Regions from separate parts of the Homo sapiens genome. Here region 2 is linked to region 1. The links are contacts of gene promoters, found by promoter capture Hi-C in human tissues and cell types (Jung and others, 2019). All regions are on one chromosome and are shown on one strand. The core of a region is centred on a gene start or on the middle of the fragment in contact, and the rest is flanking DNA. Distances in the headings are between cores, read along the strand shown.

Region 1 (3,542 bases), core at 435-2,934:
CATTTTCTACACTTACCAGATAAGTAGGGTAACACCCAACTCAAAATCCTGTGTGTGGAAGGGGATAACGCATGACACACATGGCCCAAGCTCTCAGTTAGCTAAGTCTGACTCTATCCACTCCACCCTAAGCCTCCAACACTGTGAAATGATCCAACATGCAAATCTACTCGTGTCACTCCCTGCCCCAAACTCCTGAACAAGCCATACCATTCAGCAGCTCTCCAAGGATCTTCAGAACCTGCTCCCTACTGACCTCCTGCCACTGCTTCCACCAGGCAGCTAACATCACAGGGCTTCTTTCAGTTCCAGAAACACATCGCCCGCCTTGGCATTTTAGACCATGGCTCCGAAGCCGCCATCACACCACCACCCATGTTTATCAACGTAAGCCCCACTTCATCCTTTATTCCCTTATAATACCACTTCAAAATGCACCAGACATCCCCAATCTTGATTGTTGTTAAAAATGCAAGTTCCTGGGCCACGAGCAGTGGCTCACGCCTGTAATCCCAGTACTTTGGGAGGCAGAGGTGGGTGGATCACCTGAGGTCAAGAGTTTGAGACCAGCCTGGCCAACAAGGTGAAACCCCCTCTCTACTCAAAATTTTAAAAATTAGCTGGGCATGGTGGTGGGTGCCTGTAATCCCAGCTATTCGGGAGGCTGAGGCAGGAGAATCGCTTGAATCCGAGAGGCAGACGTTGCAGTGAGCCGCGATGGCGCCATTACACTCCAGCCTGGGCAACAAGAGCGAAACTCCACCACAAAAAAAAAAAAAAAAAAAAAAAAAAAAAAAAATGCAAGTTCCCAGGCTCCCGTCCAGACCAACTGTTGGGCCGTCTCCAGGGGAGGGACGTGAGAAGCTACATTTCAATCATGCGCCTCAGTTGGGTCTTTAGAGTAAGGTGGGGACACACTGTCCAGACTAGAGCTACCTGCCCTGGCTCTGCAGTCCCTGTCCTCAGGGTGGAACAGTGATCCCTCCTGGGCTTCCACCCCAAACCCTGGAAGGTCAAGGCCCGAAAATCCTTTCCATCAGTTTGCCCAAAAACAGATGAAATCAGCCCAAGGTGCTGAAGAGTACAGTTTATAAAACAGTAAAGCACATGTAGGAATGCCCTAAGTTCTACTTTTTCCTCATGATGCTGCTGTGAAGTTTTTCCACTTTATTTTTGTTTAAAAGTCTGTGAGCTCCGGACCCAACCCTCCACCTTAGCGTTGGTGTCCCGCCCGCCGCGGGGGTCGCAGGGCCGGCGCCGGGCCTGGCCGGAGCGAGGGGGTACTGGGGGCCTCGGGCCGCCCCGCGCCAGAGCCTCCGGCGCCTCACCCCCACCCCAAGGTCCTGCAGGCGAGGAGGCGGGGACCCCGGCGGCCGCGCCGCGGGACCCCGGGCGGGCGGGGGCGGGGCGGGCTGTGCTTGAACCACACGGTGACCGCGCGGGCCGTGCGCGCGCACACCCCCCGCACGCCCGCAGCCTCGCGCCGCGCGGCCTCTCCGGGAGTGGGGCCGGCCCGCCGGCGGCGGAGACGAACGATTCTCTCTAGGGTGCGCCCAGTGCCCCGCCTCACCTGGCCGCCGTCAGCCTCGTCGCCCCACTCGGCCGCGCTCCCGTAGTAGTCCTCGTCCATGATGGCGCCCGGCACGGCCCCCGCCATGCCCTCCCGCGAGCGAGCGCGGCGCATGCGCGAGGCGGGGACGGGCGGGCGGGCGCACGCGCGGCCGCGCGCCTCGGCCCGGGCGGGAGGCGGGGCCTGGAAGAAGGGGCGGGGCCTGGAGGAAGGGCAGGGCCGCGGGCTCGGCACTGGGAACAAAGGGGACCGGCGGAAGGAACGCCCCCAGTCGATCCCGGAGCGATGCCCGGGTGGACCAGGGGCTTAGCTCCGGAGAGAGGTTTCCCACTGGATTCGTGCACAGCCCCTCCCCTGCGGCGCCGGCTCTGCGAGCCCCAGTTTCCTCATCTGGCAGCTGGAAACAAATCCTTCCGGAAGTGTCCAGGACCCACGAAAGTGTTTTAATTTCTTTTAGTTTTGGTAAAAAGTACTAAACGCGACCGGGCGTGGGGGCTCACGCCTGTAATCCCAGCACTTTGGGAGACCGAGGCTGACGGATCACTTGAGGTCAGGAGTTCGAGGCCAGTCTGGCCAACATGGTGAAACCCCGTCTCTGCTCAAAATACAAAAATTAGCCGGGCGTGGTGGCATGCGCCTGTAATCCCAGGTACTCGGGTGACTGAGGCAGGAGAATCGCTTGAACCCGGGAGGCGGAGGTTGCAGTGAGCCAAGATCGCACCATTGCACTCCAGCCTGAGCGACAGAGCGAGACCCTATCTCAAATAAATAAATACATACATAAAAAGGGCAGGGCACGGTGGCTCACGCCTGTAATCCCAACACTTTGGGAGGCCGAGGCGGGCGGATCACCTGAGGTCAGGAGTTCGAGACCAGCCTGGTCAACATGGTAAAACCCCTTCTCTACTAATAACACAAAAATTAGCTGGGCATGGTGGCGGGCGCCTGTAGTCTCAGCTACTCAAGAGGCTGAGTCACGAGAACCGCTTGAACCCAGGAGGTGGAGGTTGCAGTGAGCCAAGATCACACCACCGCACTCCAGCCTAGGCAACAGAGTGAAACTGTGTCAAAAAAAAAAAAAAAAAGAAAAAGAAAAAGAAAGAAAGAAGAAAGAAAGAAAAGAAAAGAAAAAAGAAAAGAGAAGAAAAAGTACTGAATGCAGTGGAAAGTAGCATTTTTAATTTTTTATAAAGTGGAAGATAGGCCCACAAAGCAAAAGTGCCCAGAGCTGACAAAAATCTCTGGAGAAAGGACCTCTCTGGTCGTTGCCAAAGGGAGCAGCTGACGCTGTTGTAAAGCCCGCAGCTCGATTCCCAGCGTGAAGTAGGGGGTGAGAATATGACAGCCTCCTGATGATCACGGAAAGGTTTTTGTTTGGTTGTTGTGTTTTTGTTTTGTTTTAATTTTAGATTCGGTGCGTGTGCAGGTTTGTTACATTGGTATATTGCGTGATGCTTCTAATCCTTTCGGCAACTTTTTCAGCCTTTACCCCCCTCCACACCTTCTGCCTTTTGGAATACCCCATGTCTGTTGTTCCCATCTTTGTGTCCAAATCACAGAAAATTTTAAACAGGGAGATTAACGCCATAAAATCTGGATGCTTTGAAAGGTAACGCCCGTGGCTGAGCGCCGCGGCTCACACCTGTAATCCCAGCACTTTGGGAGGCCAAGGTGGGAGGATTGCTTGAGGCAAGAGTTTGAGACCAACCTGGGCAACATAGCGAGACACCGCCCCCCCCCTTCCCCCGCCCCCAGCCAGGTATGGTGATGCACGCCTGTAGTCCTAGCTGCTCGGGAGGCTGAGGCAGGAGGATTGCTTCAGCCCAGGAGTTTGAGGTTACAGTTTGCTATGGTCGTGCCATTGCATTTCAGCCTGTGTGACAAAGTGAGACCCTGTCTATAAAGAAAAAAAAGAAAGGTAATGCCCATGTCAGTAAGGAAAGAGTATTAGAGAAAAGAGCTCCAGAAGATT
Region 2 (3,497 bases), core at 77-2,576, 280 kb after region 1:
ACCCCCGCAGTCTCGCTTCATCCCCGGCATGGTAGTCTGCGGGTGGTACAAAGGGACCAGGACAAAGGTGAGCTGTGAGGTCCAGGCCTGGCAGCGGAAGCCCCCCACCCCCACCCGGCCCCACGCTAGCCCCACCTTCCCCAGCTCTCAGGCCTGGGCAGCCCCCACACCAGGCCTCCTGGGCACCCACAGAACTCATGAACCTCATATTGGCCAAGTGGGGTGTTCTCCAGAAGCAACAGGGAGTCATGGCCATAGATGGTGAGGCTCCCTTTTGTTTTGACAGAACTTTGGGGTTATCAAACAGTAACTGCACGGAGGGGGAACCCGAGGAGATGCCCGGAGCTGCAGAATTCGCTGTGGCCGGGCTCTGACATTGAAACAGGGACCCCGTGCTTTGACGCCGGGCACCCTGACCTCAGTCCCGGGCTGCCACGCCGCCTGGGGGTCTGTCTGCAGGGCCACTCTCTCCACTCCTCCGCACAGCGTGAGAAGGAAGCTGAGGTCCAGGGAGCCTCTGGGGCTTGCTGGAGGTCCCTGGCCAGCACCTCAGGGACCTGGGTGGGCTTGCGTGCTTCCTGCACCCATTGCAGATTCCTAGTGTGCTTATGGCAGGGAGGAAGCCTGAGGGGCTGCTGCCGCAATGCAAACCTGCCCTGGCCACCTGTCGCCCCCCAGAACAGGGCCTAGCTTCCTCTCCCTGGCACTTAGAGGGCTTTACCACCTAACGAGACTTAGGCTCAGCATTCTCTGCCCCTCATCACAACCTTGAATGATGGTGAGGGTTGATGTGAACTCTTCGCCAAAATCAGTCACATCCACCCCCACTGACACCACCAGCAGTGAGGACACCTGTCGCTCCTTCATGTCACTGCCAGGTCTATCGCCAGAAGAAGGGGCCACCTCTGCCCTCCTGCTAGTTCACACCTCCTGGTTAATAGTTCACACCTCCTGGTTAACCTGGGTCTAAAGAGGGGCCACCCTTCTCCTGCAGTGTCCACACTGTTTCCTATACGCTGGTTGACAGTGTTACACATTTTTACATTTTACAGGTTCCCAAATCAAATTCACAAGTTCATATTTTAAATTAACAGCAGGTCCTCAGAGGTAAAGGTTTGGGTATGAAATTTACTGAATCATTTTTGAACCCTTATCTTATTACACAAGCTTTGAATTTTAGTGCAAAGTATTTTTAGATGTAAATTGAGCTGCTTTTATAATTGAGTGAAAATGACCCATCTTGTACTACTGAAAATAAGCCATCTCTTCTGAGCTAATCTGTTTGAGAAAGCACAGGATTGTTTAAATGGAAAAACAGGGCCTCCGATCTGGAATCAAACCATGTGCAAAATGGGTCACACAGCAATGCCTGGAAACGGCTGCTCACTGTACACCATGTCTCCCCCGTCACAGCTGCCAGCTCCTTCCCAATTGCAGGTGGAGCCAGGACTGGGCTTGCAAATACAGCTCAACTGATTGATTGTGCAAAGTTTCACCAGCCCCCATATGTTGTTTCTGTTTTTATAGAAGAAACCATTTTCGCAGTGATTTAAGACGGTCTCTGCCTTTTTCACGGGGCTGACACTTACACCCCCTGTGCTGGAGTATCAGGCCACAGTCCCAAAGAGGTCCGGGAGCCACTGTATTCGTTTCCGTGCCCTCTGGGAAAATGAACCAATGCCAATTTCACGTTAGAATTTCCTTGCTGAAGCAGTAAAATTAATTTTTAAAACTCTCAACCCTTGGGTACAATACATTTTCCATATTCCGTGTGACTCATAATGTACTCCTGCTGTTGCTGACGGGCAGTGGTCGGTCAGAGCAGAAGCTCAGCTGTGATTGCTGGGGGAGTTCTGAGCTCCATGAGCCACTCTGGCCACGACACCATCTTTACTTGAAAGAAAAACTGACAGACAAATGGCATTTAATTGGATTTAGGTATCTGGCAGATATTTCCCAGAAAAGGAACAAACTGAGCCTCTTACTTCCAGAAACAGCTGACATTATTTATTGCCAATGGTATACATTTGAGCTTTTAAGCAAAAATCAGAATTTTGAAAAACTTTCTCCTATCACCATGACAACTTCCTCATAATGAGTTTTCTGATGAGATGGATGGTGATATTAAGTGATTTTTTGATACTATATAATGTAATGTGTCAAAAATTTGAATTTCTGCAGAACTCTGTGAACCAACATTTTTCAAGTGAACATTCATTTTTCCATGAAAAACCACATGTTCAAAGTGAGAGAGAACAGCGGATTTAACTGCCACAGAGCCCAAAAGTCTATTCATGAGGCTTCAGATTCCATGTTATAACCAGCCTTTAAGAAGCTACCACTTGTTGAGTTTTGGTGTAGTAGCAAAGAATGTTCATAGTTAGTTAGCTGAAAAAGGTACTAAAATCCTTTTCCCTGTTTCAACTATAAAATGCGTGAGGCCAGATTTTCTTGATACAGTTCAACTGAAACAACACATTTCCATAGACTACATCGGAAGCAGACGCAAGGTCCCTAGCTGTCTTCTATTAAGCCAGACACTGACAGGATTTGTGAAAATGTACAACAATGCTACTCTCTCAGTAAATTATTTTTTCATTTTGGAAGATGCTTATCTTCATAAAATTATTTATGATAACATGCAATGGATTTATATGTTATTTTTAATGAATTATACATGTTATAAATTTCTCACTTTTAATTTCCAGTAGAGTAAATATCAATAGACATTGTTATACAAAAAGCCTCTTTGGGGTCGGTACTTGTTAAGAGCGTAAAGGGGTCTCCAGTAATGCATTTGAGGCCTGCTAGTCCAGGCTGGTCTTGAGCTGCCCTTGAAATCTTTGAAAATGGAGCTGTGATTTTTTTTTTCTTGCAAAACTGGGAGCTGGGCTGGCTCCAGCCGGCTTGCTTTTTGAGGAGTGACCATTTCTGCACCATTTGCTCTACAGGCAGCCACTGGGGAGAATGCCTGCTGCGTTGCGTCTGCGTTTCACACCAGGCCGTTGGGGAGAGATTGTGAGCGCCTTCAGGTCAGGATTGGGGTCTTTGCATCAATGGCTGGAGCCTCAGCGCCCACTCCACACAGTAACAGCTCAGGAAAGGCCTGCTGGTTGATCCCAAATCCACGTAGAACGGTTCCAACTGCAGCGGGGAAGATGGGCTGGTTTAAAATAAAAAACCAGGTATTGTTTCACTGGTGCCAGAACACCCAGCTCTTCCTGGTATTATGGGGTCTGCAGACCAGGTGGACCCCGGGAATAGGCAGGGGCTATAGTCGCATTTTCAGAAGGTGATCTGGAGCCATGGAAAATGCCCTACTCTCTGGCAGTTCTACCAGCCACCCTCAGACCACAGCTTCCCTGAAGGCTGTGCAGCTGTGGCCTCTAGGGAAGGCCTGTGTGGTCAGGTTTTTCCTTTGTGTTAATTTCCAGGCCGGGAGCTGACTAACTGCACAGGTCTACCCACAGCCACATGAGATGAAGTCAGGTGCAACG

What was found. Contacts are between HindIII fragments. The study calls those that stand out against the background at their distance.
Region 2: a contact is called between a fragment that was not itself captured here and the fragment with the promoter of NELFCD in region 1, in 1 of the 25 tissues and cell types used here (spleen).

Annotation. Positions count from the first base shown.
Region 1 is chr20:58,979,398-58,982,939 of GRCh38, reverse strand. It overlaps NELFCD (negative elongation factor complex member C/D), which reads right to left and starts at 1,684. Exons shown (of 15, transcript NM_198976.4): 1 at 1,571-1,684. The coding sequence starts at 1,630. RefSeq lists an enhancer at 926-1,426 and a silencer at 1,349-1,828. The HindIII fragment of the contact is 13,643 bases long and covers 1-3,542 here.
Region 2 is chr20:58,703,662-58,707,158 of GRCh38, reverse strand. NPEPL1 (aminopeptidase like 1) reads right to left here. Exons shown (of 12, transcript NM_024663.4): 7 at 1-36. STX16-NPEPL1 (STX16-NPEPL1 readthrough (NMD candidate)) reads right to left here. Exons shown (of 23, transcript NR_037945.1): 17 at 1,590-1,661; 18 at 1-36. Among named protein-coding and RNA genes, the nearest start is that of NPEPL1, 13 kb to the right of the region's middle. The HindIII fragment of the contact is 8,020 bases long and covers 1-3,497 here.